4 separate regions of the Homo sapiens genome follow, and all the other regions are linked to region 2. The links are contacts of gene promoters, found by promoter capture Hi-C in blood cells and fetal thymus (Javierre and others, 2016). All regions are on one chromosome and are shown on one strand. Each heading gives the region's core, a stretch centred on a gene start or on the middle of the fragment in contact. The rest is flanking DNA. Distances are from core to core; before and after follow the strand shown.

What was found. Contacts are between HindIII fragments. The CHiCAGO score rates a contact against its expected background, and 5 or more counts as called.
Region 1: a contact is called between a fragment that was not itself captured here and the fragment with the promoter of KCNG4 in region 2, in 3 of 17 cell types (M2 macrophages, M1 macrophages and megakaryocytes). The highest score is 7.6, in M2 macrophages.
Region 3: a contact is called between a fragment that was not itself captured here and the fragment with the promoter of KCNG4 in region 2, in 3 of 17 cell types (M2 macrophages, megakaryocytes and M1 macrophages). The highest score is 6.5, in M2 macrophages.
Region 4: a contact is called between a fragment that was not itself captured here and the fragment with the promoter of KCNG4 in region 2, in 2 of 17 cell types (M2 macrophages and M1 macrophages). The highest score is 5.8, in M2 macrophages.

What each region holds. Positions count from the first base shown.
Region 1 is chr16:84,486,141-84,488,991 of GRCh38, reverse strand. MEAK7 (MTOR associated protein MEAK7) reads left to right here. Exons shown (of 8, transcript NM_020947.4): 5 at 1,933-2,361. Among named protein-coding and RNA genes, the nearest start is that of MEAK7, 17 kb to the left of the region's middle. The HindIII fragment of the contact is 2,956 bases long and covers 1-2,756 here.
Region 2 is chr16:84,238,629-84,241,452 of GRCh38, reverse strand. It overlaps KCNG4 (potassium voltage-gated channel modifier subfamily G member 4), which reads left to right and starts at 1,441. Exons shown (of 3, transcript NM_172347.3): 1 at 1,441-1,783. The HindIII fragment of the contact is 3,746 bases long and covers 1-2,118 here.
Region 3 is chr16:84,441,799-84,444,498 of GRCh38, reverse strand. ATP2C2 (ATPase secretory pathway Ca2+ transporting 2) reads right to left here. Exons shown (of 27, transcript NM_014861.4): 15 at 1,900-1,989. Among named protein-coding and RNA genes, the nearest start is that of ATP2C2-AS1, 24 kb to the left of the region's middle. The HindIII fragment of the contact is 8,325 bases long and covers 1-2,700 here.
Region 4 is chr16:84,411,695-84,414,402 of GRCh38, reverse strand. All of the region lies in intron 6 of ATP2C2 (ATPase secretory pathway Ca2+ transporting 2), which reads right to left. Among named protein-coding and RNA genes, the nearest start is that of ATP2C2, 45 kb to the right of the region's middle. The HindIII fragment of the contact is 955 bases long and covers 817-1,771 here.

The DNA.
Region 1 (2,851 bases), core at 29-2,528, 250 kb before region 2:
ACCAGCTTTTAGTTTCATTAATTTTCTGTTGTCTTTCTAGTTTCTATTTATTTTCCTCTAGCTTTTATTTTCTTCCTTCTGTTTGCTTTAAATTTGTTTGGTCTTCTTTTCCTAGTTTCTTAAGATAGAATACTAGGTTATTGATTCGAGATCTTCTTTTTCAAATAAGCATTTACACTTGCACATTTCCCTTTCAGCACTGCCTTCGCTGCATGCCATAAGTTTTGATAGGTTATGTTTTTATTTTCATTGATCTCAATATTTTCTAATGTCCCTTAGGATTTTTTCATTTGGCCTACTGGCTATGTAACAGTGTGTTATTTAATTTCTCCATGCCTGTGAATTCCTCAAATTGCCTTTTAGTACTGATTTTTGATTATATTTCATTATGTTTAGAGAAGATACTTTGTATTATTTGAATCCTTTAAAATTTGTTGATGCATCATTTATGGCCTATAGTATGGTCACTTCTGGATAATGTTTAAAGCACATTTGAGAAGAATGTGTATTCTGTTGTTGGGTGAGAAGCAGTATATATTTAAATTTAATTGGGATTAAAAAAAAAAACCTTGTGGCAAATCACTTTGCAAAGCAGACTTACTTTATAAATATGTTGCCCTTTTGTTTTAAAGCCAGATTTTAAAGTACAGCTTGAAAATAGGTTATATTTCAGAAGTTAGTTTAGATGAGGTATTTGGAACTTGGAAAGAATTTTACAAGTAAGTATCAGTAATTCGTCTTATGGGTAAACTGTTCATCCATCTAGAATCAGTATGTTTTAAAAGAAGAATCATGAAAATAAAAATTAAAGTTTTCAGTGAAGTAGAAAAGGTAATTCAGACGATTAAAATTATCCTTAAGATTTCAAGTAATATATAGGTAATGAGAAATGAAACTGTTTGAAAAATAAATAGAAATGATAGGAATTTTGAATTATCAGAAGTTGGGAGTACTTTTACATTTCCTGCTTAATAAAATGGGCCTGAGTTACACAAAATATTTCAGCTTAGTCAAATTTTCGCTAGGTTGGGAATTATAATCTCTGTAAATGGGGCCTTTGTGTCAGCAAGAGCTTAAGACGTAAAAGCTCCTCTGTTCCTTGTAATAACCGAGCGGGGCAGGTTCTGGCCTTACCTCCATTTTATACCTGAGGAAACTGAGGCACAGAGGTCCAGACCTTGGCAAGGTCATGCTGTTCCTGAGCTCGGGTTTGAAGCCAGCTGTTCGAGTCCCAGGTGTGTGCTCCCACGCTCTTACTGTCACCTCCACTCTTAGTGGGTGAGGGATGGAAAATAGGGCTCCAAGTGCTGTATGATTAAGCCTGATTAGTGGCGAATGAAACCCGCACTTCCCAGATAAACTGCAGGAGTCCCAGGAAGTGCCCTACCAGCCCCTTGACTGGCTGGGAACATTCCCCTTCCAGTGACCTTGGCAGGACCGACGCCCTTGGATGAGCGGCTCCAGGTGTAGCTCAGGCATTTATTCCAGCCCCATTGCCAGGGCACTGCCATCTCGAGGGGTTCTGAAATGCTGCTTGGAGAGGAGAGAAAAGTGTTGAAGTCGGATTGTTTAGATCAGTGCTGGCCAATAGACAAAGCAAGCCCCATGTGAAATTTTCCCTTTTCTAGGGACCATGTTAAAAGAGTAAAGAGAAACAGGGGAAAACTGATTCTAATAATATGTCCTAAATACAATTTTGAAATGTAATGAATATTTAAAAATTGAGATATTTTACATTCTTTTTTCATACCAAATCTTTGAAATCAAGTGTGCCTTTTACACTGACGGCACCTCTCAATTCACACGAGCCCTGTTTTCTGTGCTCAGTAATTGCATGTGACTCGTGGCTCCCACACTGATCAGTGTGGGTTTAGATAGTAGCTAAATGGTGACATAACAGCCCCACTAATGCTGACCATCCCCTTCCCCTAGATGGCAAGAGACTTCTGGGGCCCCAGTGGCTGGACTATGACTGTGACCGAGCTGTGATCGAGGACTGGGTGTTCAGGGTCCCCCATGTGGCCATATTCCTGAGTGTGGTCATTTGCAAGGGCTTTCTCATCCTGTGCTCGTCTCTTGATCTGACTACCCTGGTCCCTGAGCGTCAAGTGGACCAGGGCAGGGGTTTTGAGAGCATCCTGGATGTCCTCTCTGTCATGTACATCAACGCCCAGCTGCCTCGGGAGCAGCGGCACCGCTGGTGCCTGCTCTTTTCGTCTGAGCTCCATGGACACAGCTTCTCCCAGCTCTGTGGCCACATCACTCACCGGGGACCCTGTGTGGCTGTCCTCGAGGACCATGACAAGCATGTGTTCGGTGGGTTTGCCTCTTGCTCTTGGGAGGTGAAGCCTCAGTTTCAAGGTAAGACTTGGTGTCCTGAACCTTGACGAGTGGCACAGCACGGGCAAAGAGCTCTGGAGAAAGGGAGAGGGTGGGGGTGCTAAATAGGGCTCTCCCATCTTCTCCAAGTGTTTCTCTAGACGCAGTCGGGGCGATAGGAAAATGTGATGCTGCTCTATGGTGTTTATCACATCAGAGTTCTTCAGGACAGGCCGTGTGACCCCCAGTTTTCAGGCGAGGACACGGGCCCAGTTATTACACGGTGCCGGGTCTATGGGGCGTGGGAGAAGTCAAGCCACAGATGCCTCCGAGGGGACCAGGAGATGGTAATTGGTTCAGATCGGACATTTTCCTTCCCTGGGCCTTCCTGCCCCTGCCCCCACCGCCACGCGTTTGCTTGTTGGAATTTGGAAGCTTTGTGCATGACCTTGAATGCACTGGATGAAAGGTTCTAAGTAAATTCTTTTCCTTCCCTCAAGGAAGAATACTCTGATGAAAAGAGTCCTTTAAA
Region 2 (2,824 bases), core at 192-2,691:
ACCGCAATACCAGATGGACCTCCATTCAGTCAGTTCTCTTCTCTGCTTGGATTCGTTCCCATTGCCAAGGCCACAGAGAGCCCACCTAGGTCAGCAGCACCTGTCATCCCCTTGCAGGCAGCTGTGGAAGGCTCACCCTCTAATCTCCCTCACTCCTGGATCCTCCCATCAAAACTCAAGCGTCTGTTAAGTGATGGTTCTTTTTTTTTTTTTTTTTTTTTGAGACAGAGTCTCACTTTGTCACCCAGGCTGGAGTGTAGTGGCGCGACCTCAGCTCACTGCAACCTCCGCCTCCCGGATTCAAGCAATTCTCCTGCCTCAGCCTCCCGAGTAGCTGGGATTACAGGCACCCGCCACCATGCCCAGCTAATTTTTGTATTTTTAGTAGAGACAGGGTTTCAGTACGTTGGCCAGGCTGGTCTCAAACTCCTGACCTTGTGATCTGCCCGCCTCCGCCTCCAAAGTTCTGGGATGACAGCTGTGAGCCACCACACCCGGCCTAAGTGATGGTTCTAACCAGCAAGATGACCTTGAGCAAGCCTCTTCTCAGGGCCTCAACTATCAAATGCAGTGAAGATAACACATTCAGAAGCCAAGAGCCTGGGCTGCAAAACCTCTTAAGAAAGTGAAGAACAGTCAACGTGTAGTGAGCAACTACAAGATGCTGGTTTTACAATTGCAGCCATCGCTGGTTTCACTGTCCTCATTTGACTGAGAAACCCAAGGCCCAGAGAGGGGAAGTGACTGACCAAGAACACACAGCCAGGCAGTGCAGAGTCCAAGTTCACACCCAGGCCCTGGACTGATGCCTCTTCCTTTTCACCCACCCAACCATCCAACCAGCACAGGAGCTTGCACTTATGGTTCTGACCTTCCCTGAACCCTCTCTCATTCCCATGTTTTAGAGACAAGACAATTGAGGCTCAGAAGCACTAACTCACCTGGCCAAGGTCACCCAGCCTTTCACATAGGAGCCAGGATCCAGGCATGTGTGTGAATTCCAAGCTCGGAGCTCTTCCTATTGCTGTTCTGTAACACAGCCCCCCTGACTCCCACCCAGCGCTCAGAGCCTGGGCTTCTGTCTGAACCTGTCCCAGGCCTGGGCTGCTTAAAAGCAGCAAAAAGTTCCTCCTGCAGCTTCAACTTGAGCCTGTCACCATCATCAGCATACCCCGAGAGACTCTGGGGTGCCTGGGACAGGTAGCTGCAGATGCCTCCGGCCCCAAGTTGCCCTCTGCTCCTCCCGAGTTGTGCTCCTCCATGCCAGAGGAGGGAGGACAGCTCCCCTTGCCTCCTAGGCGGTTGGCAGAGTGGCAGCGGCTGCTGCTTCTTCCTGCTGCTGGCTGATGGAGAGATTATTTCTAAGCCCTTCCCATTCCACACCCCCCCACACTGGCTGTCCCCGTGGGACTTGAAGTGCAGAGTCCGCTGCTCAACCAGGACAGCTGCCCTGGCTCCCTCCCAGCAAGAACCCCCAGACCCTCATCTCTCATAAGGAAAGGGACTTCTGGGTCCTTTAAAAAAAAAAAAAAATCCCACCTCAATCCCCCAGGGCTCTCCTGCAGCTGCTGGAGAGAGAGATGCAGAATGAATGAACTTCTGGTTTCTGGAGGAGGCACGGGAAGAAAGATTGGAAACTGACTCTGCTAGAAACTGCTGTTTTGGGGATTTTTTTCTTCCCCTTCATCTCCACCAGAAACCTGTCCCTTCCCTGGGCACCAAGAGATGGGCTCCCCTTGCCTGGCAGAGAAACAGCTGGAAACTGGCTCCCTGAGACAAGAAGGTGAGTTAAACTGGAGGGGAAGAGTTACTGCTTGCTGTAGGGTGGGCGGGGGCCAGGGGGAAGTTGACGCTGTTAGACATCCTTGGCAAAAGTGCTGGTTTGAGTGAATTCCTTTCCCGTGCTCCAGAAGGAGCTGTTTGCCAGCTGTTTGGAGAGCCGTAGATGGCAAAATTGGGTTTATTCAGTGAATGCAGAAAGGGCAGTTTTCAGGTTCTGGAAGGAGCCCCAGGCTGGGGGACAGAGTGCTGGGTTGGATTCGGATTTGCTGTGTGACCTTGGACAAGTTACTTCCGCTCGCTGGGTCTTGGTTTTTGCACTGGGAAAATGAGGAAGCTTGCAAAGGGCTCCCCAGATTTCAAAATACTCTTCTCTCTGCAGGCTCCTCATCCTCCTCTGGCCATTCCCTGTGAGCAAAGTAATGCATTCAGAGCAACAGAATGTTGTGTAGGGAGCAAGAGTGTGAAATAGGTTACGATTCACTCTCCACTATCCACCGGAATCCAACCGGCTCTGAAATTGAGAGGAACTTTGATTTCCGTTCCACTGCCGAGTTTTTCTCTTGATTGGAGTGGAGTGCATCTGAAAATGTAAGCTTATAGATGCTTTGGAAATGGCTTTGGCTAGAATGAATAGCATAAGAAATGGTTGCAGGATCTGAAGGTGAGAAATATTATGAAAAGGACTTTTTAAATATGTGAAGTGGCTAAATCTAAAACACTCACACTAAGTCAAGCACCTCATATAGGTCTGAAATGGAGACAGCATTAGAGGCCCCGTCATTTTTTTTTGTTTTTTTCTTTTTGAGATGGAGTCTCGCTCTGTTGTCCAGGCTGGAGTGCAATGGCGCAATCTCGGCTTACTGCAGCCTCCGCCTCCCGGGTTCAAGCGATTCTCCTGCCTCAGCCTCCCGAGTAGCTGGGACTACAGGTACATGCCACCTTGCCTAGCTAATTTTTGTATTTTTAGTAGATACAGGGTTTCATTGGCCAGGCTGGTCTCGAACTCCTGACCTCAGATGATCTGCCTGCCTCTGCCTCGCAA
Region 3 (2,700 bases), core at 14-2,513, 200 kb before region 2:
ATGTCATGATTTCTGTTTGTTTTTTTGAGACGGAGTCTTGCTCTGTCACCCAGGCTGGAGTGCAATGGTACGATCTCGGCTCACTGTAACCTCCGCCTCCTGGGTTCAAGCAATTCTCCTGCCTCAGCCTCCCGAGTAGCTGGGATTACAGGTGTGCACCACCATGCCCAGCTAATTTTTATATTTTTAGTAGAGATGAGGTTTCACCATGTTGGCCAGGCTGGTCTTGAACTCCTGACCTCAGGTGATCCACCTGCCTCGGTCTCCCAAAGTGTTGCGATTACAGGTGTGAGCCACTGTGCCCAATCTTTTTGTTTTTTTTTTTTTTTTTTTTTTGAGGCAGGATCTCTCTCATCTAGACTGGAGTGCAGTGGTGTGATCATAGCTCATTGCAGCCTCAGACTCCTGGGCTCAAGGGATCCTCCTGCCTCAGCCTCCTGAGTAGCTGGGACCACAGGCATGCACCACCATGCCCAGCTAATTTTTATATTTTTTGTAGAGATGGGTTTTCGCTATGTTGCCCAGGCTGGTCTCAAACTCTTGGCCTCAAATGATCCTCCCGCCTTAGCCTCTTAAAGTGCTGGGATTTGAGCCACTGCACTCAGCCTGTAATGACTTTCCAATGTTCTTACACTGGGGAAAAGCACCTGATCTACCAACACGGGGGCTTATGAGAGGGCGACCACCTCTCCCCCGCCCAGCACCAGCTTTGGGAAGGCAGTGGTGTGGGAGGTTGGAGTCTTGCACTGGAGGGAGGGACAGGTAAGCTGATAACAGAAGGCAGTGAAGTGAGCCCTGGTGCTCAGTGATGGGACAGGTAAGCTGAAAATACAAGGCAGTGAAGTGAGCCCGGGATGAGGAGAGGTGTCTGCTGGGGTGGAAACTGGAGTGAACTTGAAGAGAAAGTCGGCACTCGCCAGTGAGAACAGGCAGGAGTGGTCAAAGTCCAGGAGGAAGCAGGAAGGGAGGGTGAGTGCAGGGGCCAGGCTCGGCGGCAGCGAGGGGTCCGTGCTGGGGGATGAGCACCCTGAGTCGGGCTTTTCCCTTGACCTTGATGGAGAGGGTTCTGATCACACCCGAGTCAGAGACAAGTCACACAGCAGAAAGCACGGAGCGGGTCGGGGAAAGGAGCTCCCACAGTGTCCAGGGGAGCCCCAGCTCTGGCTGAAGAGGAGGGACCCAGGCCAAGTGGCCATGGAAACAGACGTGGGAGCTGACCGGGGCCACCTTCTTCCTTCCTTTGCTCCCTCCTCTTAACCTCTGCCGGCCCCTCCTTTCCCATGTCCTTTGTCCTCTCTTCTCCTTGCTTTCCTGTCACCTGCATTCCCAGCCCATGTTTTCTGCCTCTCCTTCTTCTAACTTGTCCTCTGAGCACAGAATGCAGCAGGCCCCCATCAGCTCCCACCCATCCCCTCCACACTGCAAGCAGCCACTTGGTACCTGGTGCTGGGTACAGAATGGCCTGGGGCAACCCTGCACAGCCACAGAGCTCAGGGTCTAACACTGAACCCCGGAGTCAATCGAATACATTCCCAGGAACCAGCCCCTCCCAGTGGTGCCTCGGTGAGCACAGGGTCGTGTTGGGTGCATAGGGAGTCTCGTTCCACTGTCTGTCGCCTCAACACCTGACCAGGGCCTGAACCACAGGGAAGCTCATAGGATTCTTTTGGAATCGCTGGTGGAGGGATTAGAGACCTGCAGAACTTGCTGAAGTCCCGTGGAATCTCAGAGCTCACCTCCTCCACCACCAACAGATGGCCCAAGGCCAGTGTGGGCCATTTTCTTCCATGATTACCTAACGTCCCCACTCCTGTTAGCTCAGACAGGAGCTGGCTTTCTACCAATGAATCCAGCCCCGAGCGAAAGAATTCCCCGCAGAGCCACCCCAGGACCTCCTACCTTCATCGCCAGGGCCATCAATGCACCCTCGGTGGGCTGCCCCATCACGGCGTTCTTTCTGATGACCGCATTGTTGGCAACACAGCCCGCCTAAAAGGGGATTGTCCGGACATCTGTAGTTAGTACTGGGCTCATGAAAAAGTTAGACATTGTGGGCCTGTCCCATTTTTACAGCTGGGGTTGTGGGGACAAGACTTGCTCTTTAAAACAACTCAGCGTCCCGGCTTTTTAAAAGAAACATCGTGACTATTTCTTGGCTGTGCTGAATGTTGGTTCCCATAAAGTTATCATGAGGGAACCCAGCAGGGAGGCAGGTGCACGGGTGGTGACGAGTGTGGGGTAACGGGGAGCGACCGATAATGGGGATGATGGCATTTCCACTTGGGGTGACAAAGTATTCTAGACAGTGGTGAAGTTTGCACAACTTGTGAACAAATTGAAACCACTGAATTGTGCACTTTAACGGGGTGAATTCATGGTAGATGACTTCTACCTCAATTTATACATAAATATTTAAAAAATGAAAAAGAGACAAGCAAAAAGAGTGGGATTCCCAGCGCTCTTCCTTCCCGGCCTGGTGAGCCTGGACACTCGCATTACTTCTCTGCCCATTTCTTTTCTTTTCTTTTTTATTATTACTAGTTTTGCATATTTTTGTTTCATTCATTCATTCATTCGAGATGGAGTCTCATTCTATTACCCAGGGTGGAGTGCAGTGGCATGACCTCAGCTCACTGCAACCTCTGCCTCCCTGGTTCAAGGCAATTCTCCTGTCTCAGGCTCCTGAGTAGCTGGGACTAC
Region 4 (2,708 bases), core at 45-2,544, 170 kb before region 2:
GGATCATGAGGAGAGCCAGCCAAGAACCAATGCAACCCCAGTGGGCACAAGGTGGCAGGGTAAGGAGGTGAAAGAACCACGCCCTGGGTGCTCTCCTGAATTAACTAACCCCACGGCTCCCACCTCAGATCCCTGGCTATGAGACAATATACTTTTCTTGGCGTTTGTGCAACTGGACTTTCTGTTCCTTGTAGCCAAGAGCACCTGCCAGAGATATACCTGTTGCTCCCTCAGCTCCTCCCATGGCAGGCTCCTCTTCCTCAGGCCTCAGCTTAAATGTCACCTCCTCTCTAAATGTCAGCCTGATCGACAGCTATTTAGGGTTGTCCTCACCCTTCTACCAGTCACTATTACATCTCAGTGGGGTTTTTTATTTGTTTTGGTGGCCTCCAGTATTTTTTGGCTTTTGTGTACCTGGACAATTCCAAGGTCATCTTGTTCTTCACTGGCTTATTATGTACTCCCTTGGTAGGAATGTGAGGTCCCCAAAGGCCGAGGCCTCCCCATTTCTTCCACTTGTATAACCTCAGTGCCCTTTCTCCAGGCATACAGTAGGTGCTCAATAAATATTTGATGCCTGCACCAGGGATGGAGTAACACAGGGAGGGGGTCCCGCACAGCAGGGTTTCCCCTGAGTTGGAAATGGGTCTCAGAGACTCAAAGGGTGGGCTTCACCTCTTCAGCGCTCTTTCAACTCTACTGGGCTGCCCGACACCGCTGCTTTTGTACATAAAACCGTCTTTTAGAAGTGACCTCCCGGGAGACATCAATAATGCACGCTATTCACCTGAAAGGCCAAGACTCGATATTTAAGCTTAAGATCGGATCATCAAATCACATAAATCATTTATGCTTCCGTTTGCTCAGTTAATGATGTCACATGTCTGGATTTCTGACAGCACTGTTCATCCGACCAGCGAGCCCAGACATTTCTACTGCTCCCGCGGCCCTTCTACAATTGACTCACCCTCTGTGATGTGGGTCAATTCTGTATCATCCTCTTCTTGTCCCTATTTGGTCCTTCGTCATTCTCCGCCTTGTATTATACACACACGCCCCTTGAATGCTGACTCTTTGAGACGCGGGACCGTATCTCACTACGGCTTTCTACCCTAGCCCCATGGCTCAGTTGCACAACATGTGCCTGGGATATATACTAAAGCTCTCCCTGAAAATTATCCTTCAGAAAATACGGAGTTGCCGTATGTTTGCCAAATGTTGGAAATGGGTCTTGGAGACTCAGAGGGTGGGCTGAGTTGTTCCCAGACACCCCAGACCATGAGATACTTTTTTTTTTTTTTTTTGAGACAGAGTTTCGCTCTTATCGCACAGGCTGGAGTACAATGGAGCACTCTTGGCTCACTGCAACCTCCATCTCTGGGTTCAGGCAATTCTCCTGCCTCAGCCTCCCAAGTAGCTGGGATTACAGACACCCACCACCATGCCCAGCTAATTTTTTTTTAATTTTTAGTAGAGACAGAGTTTCACCATGTTGGCCAGGCTGGTCTTGAACTCCTGACCTCAGGTGAGCTGCCTACCTCGGCCTCCCAAAGTGCTGGGATTACAGGTGTGAGCCACCGCGCCCGGCTGATCACAGGATACCTTCTATCACTTTGAGCAGCCAGGTATGTTCGGGAAAGACAGATCAGCCTGACAGGACCTCAACCAATGTTAGCAGGGGTGGGGAGAAGACTTTGGCCTTTTTTGAAATCATTTCATTTTCTACTAGGAGAACGAGCTTATGGACCACTGCTATGCTAAAAGTTAAGCTTAGAATGAGCTGTTTTCCCAGACTGAGCAACATAGTGAAACCCCATCTCCACACACACACATACACACACACACACACACACACGCATACACACACAGACACATGCACACACAGACACACACAGACACATATACACACATGCACACATACACATGCACAGACACACACACGGAGACACAGACACACACATGCATACACACACGCACACACATACACAGACACATGCACAGACACACACAGACACATATACACACACGCACACACACATGCACACACGCACGCAGACACACGCATACAGACACACACGCACACACACGTGCAGACATGCTCACACACACACATACGTGCACACACGTACACACATACATACACACACATACACAATCAGGTTTAAAAAATAAAAATGCAAAAAATGCAGTAACTTTTGTAGCAGCTGATACAAAAAAGTAGTCAGGTGTGGTGGCATGGCATGCACCTGTATTCCCAGCTACTTGGGAAAGTAAGGCAGGAGGATCACTTGAGCCCTGGAGGCAGGCACAGGTTGCAGTGAGCCGAGATCCTGCCACTGCACTCTAGCCTAGGCAACAGAGCCAGACCCTGTCTCAACAACAACAACAACAAAAAGAAAAAGAAAGAAAGGAAGAAAGGAAAAGAAAGAAGAGAAAGGAAAGAAAGAAAAGAAAGAAAAGAAAAGAAAGGAAAGAAAGAAAAGAAAAAGGAAAAAGCTGTTTTCCCTCCTGGGCCTGTCAGCTTCCTCCACCAATGGCAGCTGTTCCTAGAAGGGCCCCCGCAGATGTTCTAAGCTGAGCTGCCCAATATGGTAGCCACTAGGTCCATGTGCATATTTAAATAAAAATTAAAATTAAATAACATTAAGAATTTAGTTTGTCGGCCGGGCACGGTGGCTCACACCTGTAATCCCACTACTTTAGGAGGC